2 separate regions of the Homo sapiens genome follow, and region 1 is linked to region 2. The links are contacts of gene promoters, found by promoter capture Hi-C in human tissues and cell types (Jung and others, 2019). All regions are on one chromosome and are shown on one strand. The core of a region is centred on a gene start or on the middle of the fragment in contact, and the rest is flanking DNA. Distances in the headings are between cores, read along the strand shown.

Region 1 (6,755 bases), core at 3,256-5,755, 150 kb after region 2:
TAACTGTCTCAGTTTTTGCTTAGATAGTTTCAGGCAATGTTGTTTGGTGCATTCAGCTTGATGATTATTATGTCCTCTTGGCAAAGTAGTCAAGATTCCCATCAGTTTGAATGAAAGTGTCTTACAGAGAGGGCAGGAAATGTTAATACTTTAAAGGGCCCTTCTATTCCTCCACTGTACAGATAAGAACAACAGAGTCCTAGAGAGAGGAGGTCATGGGTCTCACTCATGAGTGGCAGAATTGAAACCAACATGGCAGTAACTTTGCCTTTCCCCCATCATGTTGTTCTCCGTCTATCTTCACTCTGCTGATTTCTTCACTTGCTCCATACAGACCCCCCAGTGCCAAGTATATAAGGAGTGATTAATCTGAGCTTCTCCAGAAAGTCCATTCCTGGTAGGCACTGGGAATAAGAAATCTCAGAATATGAAATAACATCAAGGGGTAGCACTTTTGTGAATGGCTTCCAAATTAGTTCCTTTACCTTTTTCAGGCTTAGCCTGAGATGAAGCACATATTACAGAAATGTTCTCTCTATAGCATTACCTATTAGTCTAATGAGCATGAAAAAGAGGAGAGGGGACATGCTCTCTCTAGCTATTATTACCTCCACTATAGAGTTGACATACACAAACTCATTATTGCATTATGTTTTATTCAACAAAATAAATTTAATGTTGTAGTTTAAATTAAATTCGCTGAAACATCTTTATCTCCAGCATAATGTGCCTCAAGTGCCTTCTTGGTGACTGCATTTTCTCCAGAATTAGAGTACTGAAGCTATGTAATGGTGAAATTATATGCAATCTGCAAAACGGTGTGGCTATAACATCATATTTGGCCTTCCACGTAATTAAAGGAACATTTCCTCCTCAGAGCTTTTCCATCAGAGACCCAAAGGCTATCATTGTACAAATCACCCACTTAGGAAAACCTTTATTCCCAGTAGCCTATAAAAATCTGGTTATGCAAACAGATTTGCTTATTCAGTAACATTAATAGCTCCTCATGGTTAAAAAGTCCTATAATCTGTTTCCTCTGTGACCAAGTGTCGTTTTTATTTTGACATTTGGGAGCCTTTTGACTCCTTTACAGCTGGCAAGAAGGCACAGGGAGGGAACTCTCAAAAACCAACAACCTATGTATTCCCAGCCTATTAATCAATAGAAAATCACTTCAACTGGATTAGGGTCTTGTACCTGGCAGAAAGGCTCTTATGGACATTGGAATTGGATTTTAACACTTGGTATGGCAACTCCTTGAATCAGATCAGATTCGTGTTTGATAGACTCTTGCCAAAAAATTGCTCCAGGTTCTGTGCAGTAGCTAAAGACTTTTCGTTGTTGTTGTTTTAAAAGCAGCATTAAATGTTTTCGTGAAGACCTTCCCAGCAGTGATTTTATTGTGAACATGGTCTTTAGCTCTGGTCCTGTATAACTCACACTGAGGAAACCTCTAACAAGTGTTTTATTGGAAGATGTCTGATGGATGGTTGCTTTTAATAACAAATCTCTTCCCTTTTTCTGTCCCCTGTGTTCTATTCTCCTTTCTCTACACGTTATTCAGGGAGGATTCACCTATTCCCAAAGTCCTTTCCTCTTTATTTCCATTCCAGAGCTCTCTGTATAACTCCAGGTTGATGAATGCAACTGCCCACTGTTTATCTCCACTTGGCTGTCTGTCTTGCATTGATCTCATCTTACCTTGCCTCTCCTGATTTCCTCTTCGGCCTGGGCTCGCCACATCAGATCCACACCACCATCCACCCAGCTTCCAAAACACCTGGGCCTCCTCCTTCATTCCTCCCTCTTTCTCAGTCAAGTTAGTCTACTGTCTCCTCTCCATCCTCACTGCCACAGCCTTGGTCCAGCCAACCATCTTGTCTCACTTGGTGTATTGCAGCCTCCTACCTGGTCTACTCACCTCCCACTCTCCTTCAGCCAGACTGCTCTTCTTCTAGCACAAAGTGGATCATGACTCCCCTGCCTAAAAACATCTACTGTCTCCCTTTGTCTACAGGATAAACACGACAAAGAGCCTTTAAGATTTGGCTCCAACTTACCTCTACATTAGTCACTTTTTACAATTATATGAACATCTCTCAGCTCCTCACCCTCTCACGTCTCGATTTTTGCACATGCTCTTCCCTCTGCTGAGAATGATCTTCCACACCTCTCCTATCGACCTGGCTAGTTCCTACCATTTTCTAGTCTTCAACTGAGGAGTCCTGTGGTGGAGAAGGATTTCTCACCACCTGATAGAGATTGCATGCCCACCCACCTCCGGGCTTTTTTTTTTTTTTTTTTTTGACGGACTCTCGCTCTGGCCACCCAGGCTGGAATGCAGTGACGCGATCTTGGCTCACTGCAATCTCCGCCTCCCGGGTTCAAGCAATTCTCCCACCTCAGCCTTCTGAGTATCTGGAATTGCAGGTGACCACCACCACATCTGGCTAATTTTTTTGTATTTTTAGTAAAGACAGGATTTCACTATGTTGGCCAGGTTGTTTTCGAACTCCTGGCCTCAAGTGATCCACCCACCTTGGCCTCCCAAAGTGCTGGGATTACAGACATGAACAACTGCACCTGGCCGATTGGGTGCCCCTTCTATGTGCTCCCATTGCCCCAGGCATACTGTCACCATAACTCTTACCATTCTGAGTTGAAAATGATTTTTTTTTTTTGCTTTTTATTTCTCTCATTAAATGCAAAGCTCATTGAAAAGAGGACAGTGGTTGTTCACTGTTGTACTCCTAACCTTTGACTCAGTGTCCTGAGGTTGGCTCTAGAGCTGTGCACACATGTTCAGACATTGGAGCACATCTTGTCTAGCACCTCTTTTGAGGTGGCTTAGAGAAAAGTCAGTAGGTACTTCCCCAAGGATGAAACAGAAGCTTCACCTAAACCAGTTCTGCAACTGCAGCCTGCATTAGCATTCTCTGAGAGCTTGTTAAAAATGCAGTCTCCTAGAGCCCACTCTTCAAGAGTCGGTGAGTTGCTTCATCATCAAAATATATACAGAATTCAGCCAGTCTTCAGCGTCAGCCTGGTCTGAGCCACTGTGGACTCCCACCTGCAGAATGTCCCTGCTGGTCTCCTTGCTTCTGCTCTTACCTTCTAATTACCCATTCAAGTAGCCAGGGTGATCCTTTTAAAAATTTTTTAAATTTTTTTTGAGATGAAGTCTCACTCTGTTGCCCAGGCTGGAGTGCAGTGGTGCTATCTCAGCTCGCTGCAGCTCTACCTCCTGGGCTCAAGCCATCCTCCCACCTCAGCCTCCTGGGTAACTGGGACCACAGACATACACCACCACACCCGGCTAATTTTTGTATTTTTTGTAAAGACACGGTCTTGCTATGTTGCCCAGGCTAGTCTTGAACTTCTGTGTGCACCCACCTCAGCCTCCTGCATTTTTAGGAGGCCCCTCTTGTAGGGATTTTGATCCAGAGGACTGGGTGCCTCATGTCTCCTCCCATCTCTCTCTTCTTTCTGTCTCTGTCCTCTCTCTCTTTCTCTTTGCCTTATAGCTGCCCTGGGAACTAGACTCTGCCTTAGGCATCCCTCTGACTCTTGTTTGCTTTTACACTGAGGCTGTTTTAAGTTGCACCTTGATCTGAAGCCTTGGGCTTCTGTTCCTATTCCTTGCTTTTGTTGGAAGGGCCGTGCAGCTTCTTGACAAATTGCAAAGGTGCCTACGAGTTTCCAAGTCCCCAAGAACCAAGCCAGATGACAAACAAAGATGCAGCCCACAGCTGGGGAGACAGATTTCATGTCCACACAGAGACTCCAAGATGCTGAACTGAAATCCACCCCGAAGCCTGTTTTCTCTCTCATTTCAGTTCAATGTCAGCTGGGGGCTTGCAGGGCAGGGCTGGTGACCATTCACAGGGCAAAGATGCTTTGAAATGTCAACTGAGAATGGTGTGGTGGTTGACAGATGGCACGACAGAACATAGATTAACATGGAAAGAGAAACTCATCCCTTGGGGGGAGTGTGTGAGGCTGGCAGCCACACAGAGGGCTTTTGCTGTGAGCTCTTGCAGAGACATAAACAGCCAGGAGGTTTTGCTTTCTGAGCCTGAGTGGAAGCATGTTCCTCCCTGCACATTGCCGCTCTGCTGCAAATGTTTATTCCCGTTGCATTGATTAAAAGTGCTTACCAGGCCGGGCGCGGTGGCTCACGCCTGTAATCCCAGCACTTTGGGAGGCCGAGGCAGGCAGATCACAAGGTCAGGAGATTGAGACCATCCTGGCTAACACGGTGAAACCCCATCTCTACTAAAAATACAAAAAATTAGCCGGGCATGGTGGCGGGCACCTGTAGTCCCAGCTCCTTGGGAGGCTGAGGCAGGAGAATGGCATGAACCCAGGAGGCGGGGCTTGCAGTGAGCCGAGATTGTGCCACTGCACTCCAGCCTGGATGACAGAGCAAGACTCCGTCTCAAAAAACGTGCTTACCGAAGGGGTTTGAGGGCAGTGGTGACAGTGTGAGTTATGGCTCTGCTGGCTGCCAGTGGAGCCAGTCGCTCTGCGCAGCCGTGCAAGGGTGTTTTGAAAAGTGGCTCAGCCGGCCAGGAGTGACTGGGTGTAAATATTGCTGCCACTACATACTGTAGCCTGATTGGGGCCGTGTTTGCAGAACCCCTAAACCACTACACTTGTTCAGGCTTAAAAATAAGCTTACTTTTTTGGTTGTTTTGTTTTGTTTTATGAGATGGAGTCTTGTTCTGTCACCGGGTTGGAATGCAGTGGCATGATCTCGGCCCACTGCAACCTCTGCCTCCTGCGTTGAAGTGATTCTCCTGCCTCAGGCTCCCGAGTAGCTGGGACTACAGGCCTGTGCCATCATGGCCAGCTAATTTTTGAATTTTTAGTACAGACGGGGCTTCACCATGTTGGTCAGGATGGTGTGATCTCTTGACCTCGTGATCTGCCTGCCTTGGCTTCCCAAAGTGCTATGATTACAGGCGTGAGCCACCATGCCTGGTCAAACATAAACTTACTTTCTTACCTCTTCTGCTGAACTCTATTTGCTTCTTTTCTCAACTTCTGCTGAACTCTATTTTGCTTCTTTTTCCTGGATAAAGCTCTTCTTTATCCAGAAGACTTTTAGCAACAAAGTTACCCAATGCCCTTCCCTAGTCTCTCCTTGCAACTGGCTCTCGGGTTGGGGTGGGGGGGGTGTGTAGGAGGAAATCCTTGACAGAACCAATTTACATGACTGTTTGGAGTACTCTGGCTAGCCCCAGGAGGTGTTTGCATTTTTAAATTGGTTAGTAGTGTCAGAATGTTTCATGAGTAAGAGCCCAGCCTCTAAGTTGGATACCCTGAATTTAAATCTCAACATGGCCACTTTGTATATAACCAGAGGTTGGATTTGGGGACCCAATGGATCTACCATGACATGAACTTGCACCAACATTCACCTGACCTCCAAAATGCCTATTCTGACTAGTAGACCCTAGTCTCACCCTAGTGCCAGTTCAGAGCCTGTGTCCAGTGATCCTGCACAGGTCCCATTAGTTCCTTTTCTCCTATTCAGTCATCCTGGTAAAAGGCTGTGTATTCCCTTGGGCGCAGGCTGGGAGAAAGATGGACAGTATTAATTTTTGGCAGTGTAGCAGAGTCCTTTCTGGAGGGAACCTGGCTTCCCATTCAGACAAGTGACTCCGGGTCTGTGAACTGGCTCACGTCTGGGAATTGACGGGAGACTGTGACTCTGTTTTTATGATTCAGATTACACTTCTGCTCACCTGACCTAGAACTCTTCTGCAAACACAGATCAAGTAAAAATGTGGCAGGCTTCTTATCTCTTTCACTTCTAGGAAAGCCACGATCAGCTGGCACCATAGGTCTCTGCGAGTCAGGCTATTCTGGTTGCAGCTTTGACTCTGCTGTCTTTTATGGTAACTGCATCCACCTTGCCTTTGGGGATTGAGTGCTGTGACCACTTGGCCCCAGCCCTTGTAGTGTGCCTATGTCATTTACCCTCTTTATATGTCAGTCTCCTCCTCTATAAAATGGGAATCCTCATTGCACCCACCCCCAGGGCTGCTGTGAGGTATAGATGGATTAGCATTTGGAAAGTAATAGAAGAGGGTCTCAAAGCCCATGTGTCGTTATCAGAATTATTTCGTGACAGGGGAGAGCTGGAGGAGAGAGGAAAGAGTTGAGCAGACCCACGTGCTCTCCCACCAGTGTTTCCTGAGCACCTACTATGTGCTGCCCACTGTGAGAGCTGTTAGGGTTGAAATAGGGAGCACAGCAGTGTAGGGGCTGCCATCAGGAGCTCAGTGGGGAGACCATTGTGCAACATGGTTCCAGCGCTTGCGGTGGGGAAGCTCAGGGAGTACAGGGGCCTAGGATCCTGGGCAGAATCATGGAAAGGACACAGCCTCCCCAGCCTGTCCTGCCTCCGCTGCCTCCCTGGCCTCCTCTGCATCCCTGGCCTCTCCTGACTTCCTGGCTTCCCCTTACTCCCTGGCCTCCTCTGCATCCCTGGCCTCTCCTGACTTCCTGGCTTCCCCTTCCTCCCTGGCCTCCCCAGTCTCCCCTGTCTCTCCTGCTTTTGAGATGGGCCAGGAGCTGCTGGTGCTCACTTAGCCTGTCCTGGACTCTGGGTGTAGCACTTCGATGTCCAGAAAATACGCCCGGGTTCAGCTCATCACACAGCCAAGGAAGGAGCTCCACACTGACACTAAGGGTGCATCCTGGGCTCATTCATCAGGGCATGCCTCCAAAATATTTCTCCACGT
Region 2 (7,203 bases), core at 1-2,500:
CTCCTATTGGCCTTGACATCCCTGGAATGCTCCTCTGCTCTCCCAGCTTTCTTCACAGGAAGCTCTATGTTTAGTGTCTGTGCTAGGTTGAAGTTGATGGTGATGATGAGGACCCTGGCATTTTTTCCTGTTTTCAGGAAATACCTAATATTTCCTGGTTAAATCTTTAATATTCTAAAAAGAATGGAAACAGTGCTTTCATTCAATAATTTAAGAGAGCAAATGCCTCTTATTTCCTGATAATGGGCCCTACTATTCTCTTCAGGTCTAAACACTGGTGCCAGACCTGTATTCCGGTGGAGTAGAGAGTAACTCATTGCAGGCTTCTAGGTCATTATACCCTCATGAAGGGGCGACTGAGGTAATGGGGTGAGTAGTCTCCTGTAGGGGCCAGAGTGAAGAGGACAATGACCTTATCAGGGTACAGGTGAAATGAGCTCAGTGAGAGAGATAAAGAGTTGTGTAAGGTTCATGAGTTGCTAGGTGCATACACGTGGTCCTTTCTCTCACAGCATGTAAAAAATCAGCTCAACATGGATTGAAGACTCAACATAGACTTGAAAAGACCTGAAACCATACAACTACGAGAAGCACATACAAAGATAAAGCTTTGGACATTGACGTGAGTAATGATTTCTTGGCTATGACACCAAAGGCACAGGCAATAAACAAATGGGAAAATAGACAAGCGGGGCTGCATTGAACGCTAAAGCATCTTCATAGCAAAGGAAACAATCAACTGAGGGAAACGGCAACCCAGAAAATGAGAGAAAATGTTTGCAAAGCCTACGTGGTAGAAGGGGTAAATATCTGAATACATAAGGAAGTCAAACAACTCAATAGCAAAAAACAAACAACCTGATTGAAAAACAGACCTAGGACCTGCAGAGGCTTCTCTCACAATAAAATAATGTTTTAAGAAGCTGTGATCGTCTTTATTGGACATGTCAAGTAGGACACGTGTGTTTGGAAGGAAACTTTTTGAGTTTCTCTATTGACTTAGCTAGTAGCCATTACCCCCAGCAGCCGCCAGACACCCAGATAGAAGTTCACAGCAGGGGCTTCACCCGCTGGGTCCCTCTGGGGTGGCCCCACAGTGAGAGGTCAGACTGGGGACACAGCTTCAATATTGAAACCTCAATGTGAAAGTTTAAGTTTTGTGTTACTTACAGATCCTCAAGCTAGGCAGGGCGAGCAGAGAGGGCAGACAGCAGTCCTGTGTTCCAGGTCTTATGTAGCAAGAGCAGCCATGCACACAGAGGAGAGGACTTCCTTATTTAAGGGTCTTTTGGTATCAGGTGTCCTAATTTTTCAGGGTTACTTTCTATTGGGTACTTTAAATAACTGTTAACAAGGGCAGTTGAGAAATTTGGCAGAAAGCTGGAGTTCAAGCAGGAGTCCACGGAGGTACCGACCCCTCGTCTACTTTGGTCAGCCCTGGCCAGGCCCAGGCAGCAATCAACTATGGATTCCTCATGACTCCTAAGACAATTGACCCCATGATACCTATGCTGGTGGCTGAGGCTGAACTACCTGGACCGAGGGAATATTTAAAGCCACCAGGAGAGCCTGGCCTGCATATTGTTGTATACACCTTGCGAGGAGACTAGGATCAAAATGCCACCCACACACAGATGAGGATTTGGAATGTGGTCTGAACTGACCTCCCCAGGCCCTGGGGTCTAACCATAAAAACAAATCCAAGCCATTCAGACAAGTAAGGTTGGAGAATACCTGGATGAGACTGAATACCGCCTGGGCTTGTGTTGCTGGATAGGGCAGGTTGCAGGCTCCCGAGTAAAGGATGTGCATATAGCATGTGGTTCCCTAGAGGGGACAGTCACCTTTTTGCTTGGCCTTAGATAGTTCAAGCCTAAATGACTGTCTAGGTCATCCAGGCCAAGGACTCATCAAATGATTGCGTGACACCTAATGTCTGTCAGAAGTCCCTTAGGATGGTGGCCAAAGCTGCAGCGAGATTGGTGTTAGCTTGCATCACCTTGTGTTGTGAGCTCAAATACCCTGTTCCCAAACCAATCCCGTAGGCTTACGAGTCTCCCTACACCCAGAGTTAGGAAGATGGTCACTGGGTGGGGGGGATGCATAAGCTTTCCCTTGTGTGGTCCCTCCTGGGTTATTTGAAGGGGAGTCCCAGGGAGACTAGTGCACATTTTAAAATGTACCACTCTCCACCATCCTCCTCCTTGTAGTGAGGTAAACGGGATGAGGTTTCTGGAAATGAGAAAAGAATGCAGTTGTTCCTGAGGGAATGAATACCTATAGTGAGGTTGCTGAACCCAGTATGCAGTCCAGGCAGCCCCTGCCGCCATGGGAGGGCCGTGCACAGCGCTGGTCCAGCAGGCTGGGTGCTCAGGGCCTCCCCTGCAGCTCTGCGTGAAGGCAGCAGGCACTGGGCTATGGAGGACTGGGGGCAGCGGCGCTCTCAGTCTTAAGGAGGGAAGAGGCATCTCAAGCCTCGCTAGGGGTGGTCGCTGTTCCAGAGCAGTGAAGTCGGCTGCCCCTATGAGGAAGCAGTGAGTTCCTGATCTGTTGCAGGCCCAGCAATTTCACCTTTGGAGGAAGTGGGCACTGGACTCATTCCAGCAGAGGAAGAAATTAGGGCTATTTGGGGAACTGGGCCCCAGATGATGGTTTTAGGTTCTAGGGCATTAGTAGGTGCCTGAAGGGCCCAGTGGATATGGATGTAGAGGCAAAATGAGAAGGGGTGTGTGTGCACGTGGGGAAGGTCTGGTGGTTGTGGGGATGTCCAGTGTCCTGCAGAAGTGAAACCTGGACCAGCCTCCTGCACACAGAACACACTCCAATCCATAGGCATTTTCCTAGTAACATAGGAGAGAGCTGTTATTGGCAGAGCTGGTTAGATTTGGGTGTGATATTATAACAGACAGGTCTTCCAAGTCCATATTTTTTGGCATAACTTGTAGGGCAGCCTCCTGATCTGATCCAAGCCTTGTGGTTTCCTTGCAGTAGGCGGTTTAACTAATGGGTTACACTGAAGACAAATGGGGATCCCAGCAAAATACCATTCTAAGGGGTCATCTGCAGGGTCCTCAGGAAAGCATGAGCTAAGAAAGCACGGGTCCAGGTACTGGACGTGAGCCAACTCCATGTCCCGGGGGTGGTGAGATCCATACCTTGCGGCAGGAAGGAGAGTAAGGTGAGTCTGGTTTGGGGATGACCCCACAGTCAAGATGAGATTCCTTGGTGTCTCTGGTTCTGGTGAGGCCACTGTTTCCCAGGACAAACCCTTGGATCAGAGCACTGTCTTCTGAGGTGATGGCCTTTCGGGTAGGGGTGGCCTTTCCAGCTGGTCACTCAAGAAGAGAGAGGGTATGGGCTGGTGTTGCACAGGCCTCTGGCCTCTGTGGGACTCCATGGAAGCGTTTAGTGAAAGCTTGAGTGGTGCTTTCCTTGGTCGGGGGATAGGACATTTCCATCCACAACTCACATACTTTGGAGCACAGAAGTATCCCTAAGCCCATGAACGTGTTTGAATGCTTTCTCTGCATGTGAGGCTCCAACCTTTCCGGCCACAGACTGAGTTTGTGCTGAGGCATCATTAGCTGGTTTGTATTCATGCCTGGTCATGGGGAGGGCCACCTGCCTCTGATTGTGGGGGTTGCTGGTGTTTAAGCTTTAGTGCCATGGGTCCCATTCAATATCTAAGGATCGGGTTTCCTGGCTTGGATCCAGGTCAGGTGGCATTTGGGGTTTTGCCCCTCTAGCACATTGCCTCAACATGCCACAGTTTTCCAGCCTGGGGTTCAATTTCTCACAGTGGCTGTCCTGTTCCAGCAGCTCTCTGGGATGCCAGGCCCCAGGCCTAAGAGCAGCCGTACAACATTTACATACATAAGATACCCAGCAAGGCCAAAGATAGAGAGCACTGACAGCTTATAACTCAGGGATTTCCTCAAGGTACTTTTACGTCGATATTGATTATGGGGTGGGCTTTCACCAACATTTCTTCAGAGCATTTTTCTGCAATCGACACAGGACATGGTGATGGTAGTTCCATGTGGTCTTTGTCTGATGTAGTTGGCGTCCTCTAGTTTGATGGCTTTTTCTCCTCATTTAGTGACCCAGACTGTACCCTCTTTGGGCTGCAGAGAAACAATCCCCACTTCCTTCAGGGAGGAGTGAGTGGGAGATATTAGCTACCTTTCAAAGCAGGAAGAACTGGAGCTTCTGCTGGAGGCTGTATGTCAAGAGGTGAGGTCTGGTGTAGCAGAAGCATCTTAGGGCTGCTCTGTGGCAGCTGCCTGGACCATCAGTCCCCAGAGGATCACAGCTCACTATCTGTATTAGTCCATTTTCATGCTGCTCATAAAGACCTACCCGAGACTGGGTGATTTATGCAGGAAAGAGATTTCATGGACTCACAGTTCCACATGGCTGGGGAGGCCTCACAATCATGGTAGAAGACAAAAGGAGCAAGTCAAGTCTTACGTGGGTGGCAGCAGGCAAAGAGAGAGCTTCTGCAGGGAAACTCCCTATATAAAACCATCAGATCTTGTGAAACTTATTCACTACCATGAGAACAGCATGGGAAAGACCTGCCTCCATGATTCAATTACCTCCCACCAGGTCCCTCCAACACATAGGAATTCAAGATGACATTTGGGTGGGAACACAGCCAAACCCTATCACTGTCCATCCTCGATCGAGTCTTTAGTAAATGTTTGATGCTGAGACAGTGGACATCTTGTGATGGTATGAGGGGGTCTCATTATTGCAGAAAATGTGGGTGATGGTATCCATAAGGGAAAAAGAGCTCAACTCTTCTGTGATCACCAGGGTGGGTGCCATGGTTGGTCTGGTCCAATTGTAGAAGAGCTGGTGGCCATGGTGTTGAGAATTAAGATAGTTAAGGCTCTCAAAGGAGCTTGGTTCCCTTGATGAACCACTTGTAGGGGGACTGGAGCCTTTCCTAATTTGACTTAGTCTGTGCTCATGCCACAACTTTAATAAGCATGACTTTAGGAGGCCACTGTGTTGCTTGAGGAGGCCAGTGGCTAAGTGAGGGTCCCCTAACCCCCATGCTGAGTTGCCCAGCACCACCCTGAAGTGGGAGCCCTGATCTGCATCAGTGATATCTGGTGGTTCACAAGAGGTAATAGAGCAAATGTCACAGAAAGAGAGCACCTTTCTCTACCAAGAGCCTTGGGTTGGAAGAGTCAATGGAAGTGCGGTGGATGTGTGTCTGCTCCTGCACAGCAGAAGGTGGTGGCTGTGATGGGAGAGGCCCAGTGAAGTCCATTTGCCACCAGCTGAAAGGGTGATGGCCCAGGAACAAGGGATTGCTGGCCACAGTTTTGCTTGCCTGAAGCTATGGTGGGAGACAGCTGTGGTGTGGGTTGCCCTCTAATGTGGCTGTAGCTCTCATGATCTGGGGCTGTAGGACTCCACTCTGTCAGCACCTGAGGAATACAGAACTTGAGATTCTGGAGTCTGTAAAAATAAGAGGATCTCACCCAAGCCCTGGGAGGTGCATCTGACCGCTAACCTCCTGGGGACAGGACATCAGGGGCTGTCAGCAGGCTCAGTCTGGAGGCCAAAGATGGCAGTCGTCTCACTGTGGATGCCTCACCCTTCGAGTGGTGGAAAGTAGCCTGGGCATGTTTGTTCTGAATGCATGAGGCATGAATCACCTATAGGAGGACTGGAGTGTCCCCTAATTTGACCCAAACAGGTCCACGCCACAGAGGCCATTCCAGAGGCATTGGATCCAGGGCACTCACAATATGTTGGGCACAGCCCAGGAATCTGTAAAAACTGTCCCCGAGTGGGGGTTATGGCCACAGCAACCTCCCCTGCAACCGGCACCACCAGCTGTATGGCTGGGCTCAGCATACCCTCCCCTCCTATGCAGGCCCTGCTGTGATAAATGTGGGAGGTGGTTGCCGGCCAGTGGGCTCCCGGCCTGCAGGGCAGTGCTGCCTTCCCTGAGGTATGTGGACTCCCCATGTCCAACTCTTCCCATGGCCTCATCAGGTCACCAATTGTTCGGGCAATAGGGTCGCTGCTGCTATTTCTCTCTGCTTGTAGGCAGGAGCTGAATAACAGGGAAACCATGGCCTCAGCTTCCTGTCACTTGAAAGGACTTAAGTGCCAGGTTTGCCTTGTCCTACAAGTGCTGTTCCCATTTTCCCAGGGAGACATGAATGGCTGAGCCTCTGTCAGGAGGAGTCAGACATGGGGCATGGCTGGAGTCTGGGGACACAGCAGCACCGGAACCTGTCCTGTAGTGCCTATGTCTATACGGGCATTGTGTGTAGTGGTAGCCAGCTTTTTAACGGGGGATAATGAGCTGCAGCTGCCAGGAAGTTTATGCCTGCAGAAGCCCATAGCCAGGATGGACGTGCTTTCTCCAGAGGCTCTGGGAGTCATGATTGGTGGTACTGAGGGCCTCTATATGAAACTCAGAACCCGGGACCTGGGCATGGCCTGAGAGACCACCTGCTGAGCCAGCTGCATGCTGTATCCTGCTGTGGCCCCAGTTAAGACATGGAGGGCTTCTGGGTGACAGTGTCTGTGGGCCTCTGCAGAATGGACAAGTGAGGTGTAGGTGCAGGCGGAATGTCCCAGTATGCGCAGGGCCTGCCACAAAGTGGCTGGCACCCTAATGGTGAAGACTTTGGTTTTAACTGCAAGGTGAATTTGGTGGCCCACTGAGGACCAGGTTATCTCTAGAATCTTTACAGCAGTGCGGGGCCTGAACTTTGTGTGGGTTGTGGCCCAGCCATGGTCTTGGAGGAAGCCACTAAAATGACCAGCATGGTTTTCACTTCCTTCTTCTAGGGGCTTCTGAGGAAAATGCTATCAATGTAATGCCACAAGGTACAGGGGTTCACACTGAATCACAGGAAGTCCCGGGGGCACGAGTTATGGGCAGTAGCTGGCTTACTGAGACAGCCTGAGTGCAATTTGGTAAATGTGCACTGGGTCCCTTCCAAAGTCAAAGCAAACACAGACTGCGACCCGTCTGTGATGGGAATGGGCAGAATGCATTGGCCAAGTCTCCTGCTGTGAAATGTTGTGCCCTGGGCCTTTGTATGCCCTCTGTTAACTTGACTGTATCTGGAATCAGGGCCTTAATGGTCCTGGAGGACAATCTGGTGGCTGCTCTACTTGGATTCCAGCGCCACAGAGTGGCAAGCACTGTTTCCGTCTTATATTTTA

The links. Contacts are between HindIII fragments. The study calls those that stand out against the background at their distance.
Region 1: a fragment that was not itself captured here is called in contact with the fragment with the promoter of DEFA4 in region 2 in 4 of the 25 tissues and cell types used here (liver, mesendoderm cells, pancreas and 1 more).

What each region holds. Positions count from the first base shown.
Region 1 is chr8:7,084,307-7,091,061 of GRCh38, forward strand. It overlaps the pseudogene LOC107986875. Among named protein-coding and RNA genes, the nearest start is that of DEFA5, 31 kb to the left of the region's middle. RefSeq lists an enhancer at 4,753-5,512. The HindIII fragment of the contact is 7,338 bases long and covers 837-6,755 here.
Region 2 is chr8:6,937,056-6,944,258 of GRCh38, forward strand. DEFA4 (defensin alpha 4) reads right to left here and starts at 1,251. Exons shown (of 3, transcript NM_001925.3): 1 at 1,171-1,251. RefSeq lists a silencer at 987-1,056. The HindIII fragment of the contact is 4,214 bases long and covers 1-2,761 here.